Linked DNA regions of Homo sapiens: all the other regions are linked to region 1. Evidence: promoter capture Hi-C in human tissues and cell types (Jung and others, 2019). All regions are on one chromosome and are shown on one strand. The core of a region is centred on a gene start or on the middle of the fragment in contact, and the rest is flanking DNA. Distances in the headings are between cores, read along the strand shown.

Evidence for each region. Contacts are between HindIII fragments. The study calls those that stand out against the background at their distance.
Region 2: a contact is called between a fragment that was not itself captured here and the fragment with the promoter of RFC2 in region 1, in 2 of the 25 tissues and cell types used here (dorsolateral prefrontal cortex and thymus).
Region 3: a fragment that was not itself captured here is called in contact with the fragment with the promoter of RFC2 in region 1 in 4 of the 25 tissues and cell types used here (IMR-90 fibroblasts, dorsolateral prefrontal cortex, lymphoblastoid cells and 1 more).

What each region holds. Positions count from the first base shown.
Region 1 is chr7:74,252,460-74,256,839 of GRCh38, reverse strand. RFC2 (replication factor C subunit 2) reads left to right here and starts at 2,441. Exons shown (of 11, transcript NM_181471.3): 1 at 2,441-2,569; 2 at 4,342-4,380. The coding sequence starts at 2,457. RefSeq lists enhancers at 2,048-2,127, 1,601-2,203, 2,538-2,767, 2,204-2,806, 2,807-3,409 and 2 more and a silencer at 2,368-2,487. The HindIII fragment of the contact is 19,783 bases long and covers 1-4,380 here.
Region 2 is chr7:74,489,514-74,493,893 of GRCh38, reverse strand. The region is part of intron 1 of GTF2IRD1 (GTF2I repeat domain containing 1); the gene reads right to left. Among named protein-coding and RNA genes, the nearest start is that of GTF2IRD1, 38 kb to the right of the region's middle. The HindIII fragment of the contact is 6,256 bases long and covers 1-4,380 here.
Region 3 is chr7:74,061,371-74,065,750 of GRCh38, reverse strand. It overlaps ELN (elastin), which reads right to left. Exons shown (of 33, transcript NM_000501.4): 27 at 2,527-2,598; 28 at 2,382-2,441; 29 at 2,056-2,130; 30 at 19-57. It overlaps ELN-AS1 (ELN antisense RNA 1), which reads left to right and starts at 3,471. Exons shown (of 2, transcript NR_183555.1): 1 at 3,471-3,541. RefSeq lists a silencer at 3,303-3,495 and enhancers at 3,298-3,592, 3,136-3,636, 3,637-4,137. The HindIII fragment of the contact is 5,904 bases long and covers 1-4,380 here.

The sequences.
Region 1 (4,380 bases), core at 1,192-3,691:
CATGCTTCCTCTTGGTGTATAACTGCCTTGCCCTCTTGTGATGACAGTCTGGGAGCTTAGCCTCAGTGTGTATTTAATTTCCTGAGATTTGAAGGATTTGCTGGGAGGAATTCTCCGTGGCTACTCTATGCCCTTTCACAAGAGCCTGTGGTTTCCCCAGCACTCCCTGGTTCCCCAACATTGCTGTTTTTCAGTCCCAGGGGAGCGGCTGGAGTTTTTAAGTTCTGAGCTCTGTTTGGGCCCAAGTCCAATAGGTCACAAAAGGCTCAGTCTAAAAAAAAGAAATGTCCTGACAGTGCAGCTTTGCCCTAAGAGTCACCTCCATCTCTGGTTCTCCTGGCATTCCATCAGTTAGAGGAGAGCCCTAGCAGCGCCAAAAGGCCTCCTGTAGAGTGGGGGTTTTTGGAGAATTATGAAAGGAACCGTGTTCTGTACTTATTAAAAATTAGTTTCTAAACTGTGTTATGTGATGGGAGGGATGTGTGTCATAGTGATTACAAGGAAAACATGAAGATTACAAAGGAACAATCCTATGGAAAAACCGCGGAGACATTTCAAGAAAAGTGTATATTTCAAGAGGAGTGTGTATTTTCTCCTCCGGAAAAATAAAAGACCTGTGAATAATGATTGAAAAAACAGACAAGACCGCTCCATCAGTTTAAAGGGGGAATAGGGGAGAGATGGCCAATTCAAACATTTTTTCCAAATTACATGGAAAGAAAAACACTGTGTTAAGTTGTGAATCTGTATACGTTAATACTATCGTTAAAACCAACTGCTTGGCCAGACGCGGTGGCTCACACCTGTAATCCCAGCACTTTGGGAGGCTGAGGCAAGCGGATCACTTGAAGTCAGGAGTTTGAGACCAGCCTGGTCAACGTGGCGAAACCCCATCTCTACTGAAAATACAAGTATTAGCCAGGTGTGGTGGCACACGCTTGTAGTCCCAGCTACTCGGGAGGTTGAGGCAGGAGAATCACTTGAACCTGGGAGCCTGACATTGCAGTGAGCTGAGATCACACCACTGTACTCCAGTCTGGGTGACAGAGTGAGACTCCATCTCAAAAACAAAAAACAAGAAACAAAACAAAGAATGGTCAAAGCACTTGTGAATCTGAAGTACCTACTTTCTTTTCTTCTTATTTTTTTAGAAACAGGATTTCACTCTGTCCCCCGGGGCTGGAGTACATTGACTTGATCATGGTTCACTGTGGCTTCAACCTCATGGGCTCAACCGATTCTCCTGCCTCAGCCTCCCGAGTAACTGGGACTACTGTCGCGTACCACCACAACTGGATAATTTAAAAAATTTTTTTTGTAGAGATGGGGTCTCACCATGTTGCCCAGGCTGGTCTCAAACTCCTCGGCTTGAGGGATCCTCCCACCTTAGCCTCCCAAAGTTCTGGGATCATCATTATTGAATATTATGACAATTTGGGCTATGGGAGGAAAGATTGGGTAGAAAAACAGCCCATAAGAATGCTCAAAACCCTTGCAAGGTTGAAGTATTTACTTTTTCTTTTTTGAGACAGGGTCTTGCTGCAGACCAGGTTGGAGTGCAGTGGTGTGATCAGAGATCACTGCAGCCTGCACCTCCTGGGCTCAAGCACTCCTCCGCCTCAGCTTCCTGAGTAGCTGGAACTGCAGGTGCGCGCCACCACGCCCGGCTACTTTTTTAATTTTTATTTTTGTAGAGACGGGGATCTCACTTTGTTGCCCAGGCTGGTCTCGAACTCCTGGGCTTAATCGCTCTTCCGGTCTCTGTCCCCCAAAGTGCTGGGATTAGAGGGGTGAGCCACCGCACCGGCCTTGAGTCCCTATTTTCCTGGAATGAACATTGCATTTCATCTGACAAAAGGACGGTTTCAGTTTCCTCCTCTGCAAAATGGGGTGGGGGTGGAATTCCCATCTTGCAGCCGAGAATTCCCTGATAATAAACGTCGAGTACCGAGCGCGGTTGAGGCGCAGGAGCCTACCCAACGGGAGCAGCTCACTAGGACATTCAGAGCAATCTGGAAAAGTGGGCACGGGCAGCCCCAGACGTCATCCCCGGACCCCGCTGCCCAGCAGCGCCCGGACGCCAGCGTTGTCCGTGTCCCAACACCGAAGCCCGCGTTTGGCCGCAACCCCTCCAGGCCCTGCTCCTCCCACGCCGCCGCGGAGCGGATCTTCCACAGAAACCACACACAAACGTCCGTTCCGAGAGCGACCTGCTTTCTCGGAAGGCGTCGCGGCCACAGCTCGCCTTCCTGTCGCTCCCAGGCCGGGCGCCAGGTCTCCCATAGCAACCGCGGCCTCCAGCGATGGCCGCCAGGGCACCACCGGAACCCTCTTCGCAGGCACAGAGAGGCGCGGGTACGTAACTTCCGCTCGCGCCCGGCGGAAGCCAGGGGGCGGGGCTTGCGTGGCGGCGTCAAGGGGCGGTGCCTCGGGTGGCGGGAAGAGGAGGCGCGAGAATGGAGGTGGAGGCCGTCTGTGGTGGCGCGGGCGAGGTGGAGGCCCAGGACTCTGACCCTGCCCCTGCCTTCAGCAAGGCCCCCGGCAGCGCCGGCCACTACGAACTGCCGTGGTGAGGTCCCAGGCCGTAAAGAATGGGCGCGTTTGGACGTGAGGGTGGGCGAGTGGCGGGCCGTGCTCCGGAGAAACTCGGGGGTCAGGGGCTCGTTTTGGGGAATCCCGAGGGAGGAGGAGGCCCCGGGTGGCATCGAGATGATTTCAAGAAGGCGACGGACATGGATCGAGAGTGGCCGGTCTAAACTCTGCGAGCGGAGTCTCGCTCACTACAATGCTTATGACAATTAGGGCTACCCCGGGTGGCCACCTACTCTGACCTAGTTGGTTTTTTCAAAAGTTTTTGTGTATAGTAGTGTATGACCTAGTGTTTTCAAAAACTTCAATCTTTTAAAAAAAATATCGATTACATGTTGAAAATAATATTTTGACTGTTAGGTTCAATAACATTTACATTTGAAATTTTTTTAAAAAAATCAAGACGGGGGTTTTGCTGTGTTGCCCAGGCTGATGTCCAGCTCCTTGGCTCAAGTGATCCCCCTGCCTCAGCCTCCTAAGTAGATGGGACTACAGGCACGCACCACCATGCCCAGTTAATTTTTTTTTTTTAGATGGAGTCACACTTTGTCACACAGGCTGGAGTGCAGTGGTGTGATTTCTGCTCACTACAACCTGCATCTCCCTGGTTCAATCAATTCTGCCTCAGCCTTCCTAGTAGCTGGGATTACAGGCATGTACCATCACACCCTGCTAATTTTGTGTTTTTAGTAGAGGCTGGGTTTCACCATGTTGGCCAGGCTGGTCTCGAAGTCCTGATCTCAAGTGATCCGTCCGCCTCGCCTTCCCAAAGTGCTGGGATTACAGGCATGAGCCACTGTACCCAGCCTAGGCCTACGGTGTCTAGCCAGCTATGCTGTGTATTTGGCACACGTCTGCAGAAACTGGCAGGTAATCCTTGCCTGGCATGGTGGCTCACGCCAGTAATCCCAGCACTTTGGGAGGCTGAGGTGGGCAGATCACCTGAGGTTGGTAGTGACCCAAGATCGCACCATTGCACTCCAGCCTGGGCAACAAGAGCAAAACTCTGTCTCCAAAAAAAAAAAAAAGAAAAGAAACTGGCAGGTAAGGGATGAGAAAGGAGCTTGGTTGCACCCATGTTGTCACACCAAATGATGTCAGTGCTGTATGTGCTGGGCCTCTTGTGACGGGCGGACAGGGTTGCAGCACAGTGTCACATTGCTCCAGATGACCTGTGCTGGCCGTGCTCCAGCAGCAACAGGTGTTTCTCTGCTGTGGCAGGTTTGAAGCCTATGCTGTACAATTCTCATGCCTTTAACTTTTCAAATGGCACTTGGGCATCTTATTACATTTTATTTATTTATTATTTATTTTTGAAACAGAGTCTCACTCTGTAGCCCGGGCTGGAGTATAGTGGCATGCATGATCTCAGCTCACTGCAACTTCTGCCTCCCAGGTTCGAGCTACTGTGCCTTAGCCTCCCAAGTAGCTGGGATTACAGACGCACACCACCACATCCAGCTAATTTTTGTATTTTAAGTAGAGATGAGGTTTCACCATGTTGGCCAGACTGGGCTCAAACTCCTGACCTCAATTGATCCACCCGCCTCAGCCTCACAAAGTGCTAGGATTACAGGTGTGAGCCACTGCGCCTGGCTGTCATCTTATTACATTTAAAACTTGCAACCATTTGGCATAGTTGTACTGAATGTATGTAATTTTTTAACAAAGCTCTCAGGATAACCCTTAGGTGCTTTTTGTGGGGTAGTGTGAAGATAACCATGTCAGCATTTTTATGCATTTTCTTAACAGGGTTGAAAAATATAGGCCAGTAAAGCTGAATGAAATTGT
Region 2 (4,380 bases), core at 1,236-3,735, 240 kb before region 1:
TAAAAAAATCAGCTGGGTGTGGTGGTGCATGCCTGTAGTCCCAGCTGCTTGGGAGGCTGAGATGGGAGGATCCCCTGAGCCCAGGAGGTCAAGGCTGCAGTGAGCCAAGATCACACCACTGCACTCCAGCCTAGATATATGGCTTAGGGAGTCCACATAAATGAGAATAAGGTCCCCTCAGAGGGGACAGAGCCGAGGTGGGTCAGCTGGGATCTTCCATTTGTCTCCTTTACCTGGCCGGCATCTATCACAGGAGAACCTGTCTACTAGAATGGCTGCTGGAGTTTGCCCTTAGAGACCCGAGATAGGCTCAAAAAAATGACCTCCAAAAGACAGCCATGTCCTAATCCCCAGAGCCTGTGTTACCTTATATGGCAAAATCACTTTGCAGATGTGATTAAGGATCTTGAGGTAGGGGATTATTCTGGCTTAGCCGGGTAGGCTCTAAATGCCATCACATGCATCCTTATAAGAAGAGGTCATGGCCGGGCGCGGTAGCTCATACCTGTAAGCCCAGCACTTTGGGGGCCAAGGCAGGAGGATTGCTTGAGCCCAGGAGTTTGAGACCAGCCTGGGAAACATAGTGAGACCCCATCTCTACAAAAAATAAAAAAAAATTAGCTGGGTGTGGTGGAGCATGCCTATAGTCCCAGTTACTCGGGAGGCTGAGATGGGAGGATCCCCTGAGCCCAGGAGGTCAAGGATGCTGTGAGCTGAGATCACGTCACTGCCCTCCAGCCTGAGCAAGACAGTGAGACCCCTATCTCAAAAAAAAAAAAAAAAGAAGAAGAAGAAGAGGTCATGCCAGGCACAGTGGCTCATTCCTGTAATCTCAGTGCTTTGGGAGGCCAAGGCAGCAGGATCACTTCAAGTCAGGAGGACCACTTGAGGCTAAGAGTTTGAGACTAGCCTGAGCAACACAGCAAGACCCCAGCTCTACAAACATTTTTTAAAAATAGGGTAGAGGAAGACTGGACATCCATATAGAAGAGAAGTCCAAGTGAAGACGAAGTAGAGAGAGATTGGAAGATGCTGGCCTTGAAGACTGGAGTGATGCGGCCACAAGCCCAGGAGTGCTGGCAGCCCCCAGGAGCTAGAAGAGGCCAGGAACAGATTCCCCCCGAGAGCCTCTGGAGGGAGCATGGCACTGTCGGCACCTTGATTTTGGCCCAGTGGTAATGATTTTGGACCTTTGGCCTCCAGAACTGTGAGAATAGAAATTTCTCTTGTTCTCATAAAAACATGGGCAAAGGACATGAACAGACACTTTTCAAAAGGAGATGTACATGCAGCCAACAATCTTATGAAAAAAGACTCAATCAACATCATTGATCATGAGTGAAATGCAAATCACAACCACAATGAGATATCATCTCACACCAGTCAGAATGGCTATTATTAAAGTCAAAAAATGACAGATGCTGGGCCAGGCGTGGTGGCTCACACCAGTAATCCCAGCACTTTTGGAGGCCAAGGTGGGCAGATCATGAGGTCAGGAGATCAAGACCATCCTGGCTAACATGGTGAAACTCAGTTTCCACTAAAAATACAAAAAATTAGCCAGGCGTGGTGGCAGGCACCTGTAGTCCCAGCTACTCGGGAGGCTGAGGGAGGAGAATGGCGTGAACCCGGGAGGCAGAGCTTGCGGTGAGCCGAGATCACGCCACTGAACTCCAGCCTGGGCGACAGAGTGAGACTCTGTCTCAAAAAAAAAAAAAAAAAATTAGCCGGGAATGGTAGTGTGTGCCTGTAATCCCAGCTACTCGGGAGGCTGAGGCAGGAGAATTGCTTGAACCCAGGAAGTAGAGGTTGCAGTGAGCTGAGATTGCACCACTGCATTCCAGTCTGGACAACAGAGTAAGACTCCGTCTCAAAACAAAAACAAAAACAAAAACAAACGAACAAGAAAATAACAGATGTTGGTGAGGTTGTGGAGAAAAAGGAACACTTATACACTGTTGTAAATTAGTTCAGCCATTGTGGAAGACAGTGTGGTGATTCCTCAAAAACCTAAAGACAGAAATACCATTGGACCCGGCAATCCCTTACTGGGTATATACCCAAAGGAATAGAAATCATTCTACAATAAAGACACATGCACACGTATGTTTACTGCAGCACTATTCACAACAGCAAAAACATGGAATCAACCTAAATGCCCATCAATGATAGACTGGGTAAAGAAAATGTGGTAGGTATACACCATGGAATACTATGCAGCCACAAAAAAGAACAAGATCATGTTCTTTGCAGGGACATGGATGGAGCTGGAGGCCATTATCCTTAGCAAACTAACACAAGAACAGAAAACCAAATACTGCATGTTCTCACTTATAAGTGGGAGCTGAACAATGAGAACACATGGACACAGAGAGGGGGGCAACACACACTGGGGCCTTTCAGAAGGTGGAGGGTGGGAGGAGGGAGAAGATCATAAGAAATAACTATTGGGTACTGGGCTTAATACCTGGGTGAAAAAAGAATCTGTACAACAAACCCCCATGACACAAGTTTACCTATGTCACAAACCTGCACACTTGTACCCAAGAACCTCAAAGTAAAAAAAAAAAAAAAAAAAAAAAGAATTTTTTTTTCTCCCTCACTCTGTCACCCAGGCTGGAGTGCAGCAGTGGGATCTCAGCTCACTGCAACCTCCACCTCCAGGGTTCAGGCGATTCTCGTGCCTCAGCCTCCTGAGTAGCTGGGATTACAGGTGCCTGCCACCACGCCCATCTAATTTTTGTATTTTTAGTAGAGATGGGGTTTCACCATGTTGGCCAGAATGGTCTTGAACTCCTGACCTCATGATCTGCCCACTTTAGCCTTCCAAAGTGCTGGGATTACAGGCATGAGCCACCGCACTCGGCCTGAAATTTCTGTTGCTTTAAGGCACGAAGTCTGTGTGGCCCGTGTTACAGCAGCTTCAGGAAATTAACACTGGCTCCTTCACTGGCTGTACCCCACCTCACAAAGACAGTCCACATCCTCAGCCCCTTGGACACTCAGTCCTCAGCTCAGACCTCTGCAAAGCTCAGGCCTGGGTTTGCTGGAGAGCTCTCCAATCTCTTCCCCCTTGGAAGCGCCACTAGAAAGAGCCGGATTTTTCTGGACACCAGAGAAGCGTCTCTGTGATTCAAGTCTCACTGCCCTATGGACCAGCTGGGGCGTTGGAGCTGATGGAGAAAAAAAAAAATACACCCAACCACGTAAAAGGCAAAGGCAGGCACACACCCCACCCAAACACGGCCCCCGCACCATCCGCTGCCATATGCTTGTTTCTTGAAAAAGAAGCTTGAGAGAACAAACAAAAAAGAAATTTCTCCCCTTCTGGAAGGCGGGCGGGGGGGGGGGTATCCTTTCTCCCCAGCAGCCTCAGCCTCCCTCTGAATACTCCCTCTCTAGTCCCAGAGGCTCCCCAGTGGGGGTAGAGTGGCCTGGGGGTCCTGGATTCCTGCCCTCCCCCACCACCACTGTCACTGTAGCCGGGAAGAACACTGCCAGTCACAGCCCTGGCCTTCCATTCGTATCTGCTCAGGCCAGGCTCTGGGCTGGGCAGCGGGAGGGGGTCTTACACCCAGCCGCAGTGCAGTAGAAGGCAGTCTGGGGTCATGGTTAAGACACCTGGGGTCTCACTGGGCGCAGTGGCTCACGCCTGTAATCCCAGTGCTTTGGGAGGCTAAGGCAGGAGGATCAAGCCCAGGAGTTCAAGATCAGCCTGGGCAGCACAGTGAGACCCCATCTCTACAAAAAAACAAAAAAGTTAGCCAGGTGTGGTGGTGCGTGCCTGTTGTCCCAGCTACTCGGGGTGCTGAGGCAGGAGGATAGCTTGACACGGGAGGTCAAGGCTGCAATGAGCTATGACTGCAGCACTGCAGTCCAACCCAGGGGACAGAGCTAGACTCTGTCACACACACACACAAAAAAAATCTGAGTTCCAGTCCTGGATCTGACCCCAAAAGCTGTCCTCCAAGTCCTCTGCCCCACTCCCTGCTAACAGAATCCCCCCGTTGTGTCCTGGTATCTAAAGATGGGACAAACTTTGCTGGGTTGTCCCAACAACCAGTGCTTGGGGCAGCTGGGCCCTCCCAGTCCCTGGGAGGAACTTTGGTGATTCTCCAAGGCTCAGAGCAAGGCACTCCTTTTCCCCTAGCTGGGACAGGTGTAAGGAGAGGCCAGAACCCAATTCTGGCCACTGAGACATGAGGGACTTCTAGGAGAGCTGTCCTTGCCCTTAGAAAGGAACTGAAACCAGGCCAGGAGTGGTGGCTCACACCTGTCATCTCAGCACTTTGGGAGGCCAAGGTGGGCAGATCACCTGAGGTCAGGAGTTTGAGACCAGGCTGGCCAACATGGCGAAACCCCGTCTCTACTAAAAATACA
Region 3 (4,380 bases), core at 723-3,222, 190 kb after region 1:
CATCAGAGGGGAACTCACCGTATTTAGCTGCTTTAGCGGCTGCAGCTGGAGGTATACCTGGGGAGATGAGGCACATGACGGCTCAGGAATGCCAATGCCACCTGTCAGGCCCTGTCTTTTTTTTTTTTTTTTTTCTTGAGGCAGAGTCTCACTCCTTCGCCTGGGCTGGAGTGCAGTGGCGCGATCCCGGCTCACTGCAACCTCCATCTCCTGGGTTCAAGCGGTTCTCCTGCCTCAGCCTCCTGAGCAGCTGGGATTACAGGCACCCACCACCACGCCTGGCTAATTTTTGTATTTTTAGTAGAGACAGGTTTCACCATGTTGGCCAGGCTGGTCGCGAACTCCTGACCTCAGGTGATCCACCTGCCTCGGCCTCCCAAAGTGCTGACATTACAGGTGTGAGCCACTGCACCTGGCTAGGCCCTGTCTTCTGACCTACTCACCCTTTACCGTCTGCCCATGGACTCATCCTCCCAGTCTATCCCCCCATCTCTCCTTCATCTATCCAGCTTCTTGCTCTGTTGCCCAGGCTGGAATGCAGTGGCTTGATCACAGCTCACTGCAGCCCTGAACTCCCGGGTTCAAGTGATCTTCCTGCCTCAGCCTCCCAAGTAGCTGAAACTACAGGCACACACCACGCCCAGCTAATTTTTAAATATTTCGTAGAGGTGGTGGTGGGGGGGGGTCTTGCTACATTGTCCAGGCTGGTCTTGAACTCCTGGCCTCAAGCAATCCACCTACCTAAGCCTCCCAAAGTGTTGGGATTACAGGCATGAGCCACCATGCCCGGCCCCAAAAGTCTTAATTGTTAAGCTCCTACTGTGTGTCTGGTCTTGTGGCACTCACAGGAAGAGCTGTGCAGGCTAGTTTACAGGGGGAGACACAATGACAGCCCAAGAAAGGGGGAAATGGCCACACAAGGTCGGCCACCATGGTGGAGACTTAGGGAAAGCAATTTCTCTCCAAGCTTTGATTTCTTTCTTGGAGAACTGGCATAACCATCATTCTCCTAATTTACTCCCACCGCAGTGGTCAGGTGGGTTGAAAGAGAGAGGAGAGGGGGAGGACTGGGACCCTGGCGGCAAGGGATAGCCCCAGCTCCCGTTTGCCACATTTCTTGTTTTTATTTTGTTTTGGGATGAGGTCTTGCTCTGTTGCTCAGGCTGGAGTGCAGCGGCGTGATCTTGGCTCACTGCAACTTCTGCCTCCTGGGTTCAAGTGATTCTCCTGTCTCAGGCTCCCGAGTAGCTGGGATTACAGGCGTGTGTCACCATGCCCAGCTAATTTATATACATACATACATACATATATATATATATATATATATTTTTTTTTTGAGACGGAGTCTCGCTCTGTCGCCCAGGCTGGAGTGCAGTGGCGCGATCTCGGCTCACTGCAAGCTCCGCCTCCCAGGTTCACGCCATTCTTCTGCCTCAGCCTCCTGAGTAGCTGGGACTACAGGCGTCTGCCACCACGCCCAGCTAATTTTTTGTATTTTTAGTAGAGACGGGGTTTCACTGTGTTAGCCAGGATGGTCTTGATCTGACCTCGTGATCTGCCCACCTCAGCCTCCCAAAGTGCTGGGATCACAGGCGTGAGCCACCATGCCTGGCCTCTTTTCTTTTCTTTCTTTCTTTTTTTTTTTTAGATGACAGGGTCTCACTCTGCTGCCCAAGCTGGAATGCAGTGGTACCATCTCAGCTCACTGCAGCCTCTGCCTCCTGGGCTCAAGCGATCCTCTGGCCTCAGCCTCTCAAGTAGCTGGAAATACAGGTGCCCACCACCACGCCCGGCTTATTTTTGTATTTTTGGTAGAGATGAGGTTTCGCCATGTCACCCAGGCTGGTCTCAAACTCCTCACCTCTAGTGATCCGCCCACCTTGGCCTACTAGAGTGCTGGGATTGCAGGCGTGAGCCACCGCACCTGGCCAAGAGGACATCTTGAGCAAAGACGTGCCAGGGGTGGGAACGAAAGTCTCTGTCTCTGTCTCTGTCTCCATCTCTGTCTCGCATACACACACCACACACACTCACTGATTTCAGAACAACTCTCACCTCCAAGGCCCCCAACACCTGGAACTCCAAGCCCTCCGACTCCGAGTCCTCCGAGCCCAGCGGCTCCCACTAGGCCTGTGGAGACAGCTGAGCATTAGACTCCGCTGGTCAGAAAGGTGGGACTGAAGCCTCGGCCTGTGGAGGGCGGAGGTGTCCTCTGGGGACACAGGTGGAGCCTGAGGTCTCCCCTGGCCTTCGATGGCACAGTGGAGCCAGGAGGTGTCTGGGGCAGGGACTCTGAGTCTACAGTGCCTGGTCAGAAGCTCCTCCCACACCCTGGGGGCCTGGGGGCCTGGCGGCAGCTCCCACCTCCACCCAGTGCTCACCAAACTGGGCGGCTTTGGCAGCAGCTTTGGCTGCGGCAGCGGCGGCGGCGGGTCCGGCTCCTGGGAACACAGACCGAGTTCAGGGAGGCACTCTGTACTGGTTAGATTCCCTCCCCACCCTGCCCCTCCTGGGGTTTCAACTCACCCACCACACCGCCTGGGATGCCTACTCCACCGAGAGCCCCGAGCCCTCCAAGGACCCCAGGCACTGCTGCTCCTGCGGGGAGAGGAGGGAAAATGAGTGTTCCATTTCTGAACGATGGGTCTCCCTGCCCCAGGGACACAAGGCAAGCAGACAGGTGGCAGGGGCCATGTGACACTGTGGAGGAGCAGTGGACAGGAAGTCCAGTCCATATTTTGTTTCATTTTGAGATGGGGTTTTGCTCTGTCACCCCGGCTGGAGTGCAGTGGTACAATCATAGTTCACTGCAGCCTCCAACTCCTGGGCTCATGCGATCCTCCTGCCTTAGCCTCCCGAAGGTGTGAACCACTGTGCCTGGCCTTAAAAGTTCTTTTGTAAGCCGGGTGCGGTGGCTCACACCTGTAATCCCAGCACTTTGGGAGGCTGAGGCTAGTGGATCACCTGAGGTCAGGAGTTTGAGACCAGCCTGGCCAACACGGTGAAACCCTGTTTCTACGAAAAATACAAAAATTAGCCAGGCGTGGTGGCGGGCGCCTGTAATCCCAGCTACTTGGAAGGCTGAGGCAGGAGAATCACTTGAACCCGGGAGATGGAGGCTGCAGGGAGCCAAGATCGTACCACTGCATTCCAGCCTGGGCGACAGAGCAAGACTCTGTCAAAACAAACAAACAAACAAACAAACAACGGTAATAGTATCTACAGCAGGCACTTAACATTTTGAGTGCTTCACACTTAGCAGCCCATTTTTTATGCATTGCAGCAGGAAAGGTAGGCACTATTGTCATTCCCATTTTGCAGATGAGAACGCTGAGGCAGAGCAGAGGTTAAGCAGTGTGCTCAGGGCTTCAGGGACGGGAAGTGGCTGGGGAGCCTGCGCCCTTCGCGGCTCCACCACATGACGTCACTCTGTTTCCCTGGCAATGTCTGTTGACTCAGGCCTGCCAAGCAGTCAGCAGTGAGCAGGGGAGGAGGCCAGGGCTGCTGGGGGTCGGCGCTGAGGAAGCCAGGATTTTCCGAGGTAGAAACTGGCCCCAAGTGGACCTGCCCGGCTGGTTGGTGGATCCCTGGGGGAGTCTTCCACCTCCCACCAACGCTGCTCACAGGAGGCCAGGAATTCAGGGGCTACAGACAGCGTGGGTCTGGCCAGGCAGGGCTGCCAGAGCGCCAAGTGCAGAGGCTGTGGGACTGCCACGTCCTCTGGGCTGGCTCGTGGTGGGAGCGGTCCTGCTGGCAGGACAGGAAGGCGGGCGGGGGCCCGGGGTGCCCAGATGAGGAATACCAGCTCCTTTGCTCGGGCCAGAGAGCTGGGGTGGAGGCAGAGACTGCCCAGACTCCTCATACCCACAGCAGGCCCAGTCCCTTCCTGGACACAGGGACCATGTAACTGTCAGGGTCAGGGCAAGCTTAGGGATGGTGGAATTGCCTCCTGGGGGGCAACTGGGATTTCAAGGGTGTTTTTGGTGGTCACAGGGGTTGAAGGCACCATAAGCATTTAGTGGGCAGGGGCCAGGTTTTTAAACTGTCATAAACGTGTCCTAGAAACTGCCTTTTTCTTTTTCTTTTCTTTTCTTTTTTTGAGATACAGTCTCGCTCTGTCGTCCAGGCCGGAGTGCAGTGGCGTGATCTCGGCTCACTGCAACCTCCATCTCCTGGGTTCAAGCGATTCTCCTGCCTCAGCCTCCCGAGTAGCTGGGATTACAGGTGCCCGCCACCACACCTGGCTAATTTTTGTGTTTTTAGTAGAGATGGGGTTTCACCATATTGGTCAGGCTGGTCTGGAACCCCCGACCTCAGTTGATCTGCCCACCTCGGCCTCCCAAAGTGCTGGGATTACAGGTGCCCGCCACCACGCCTGGC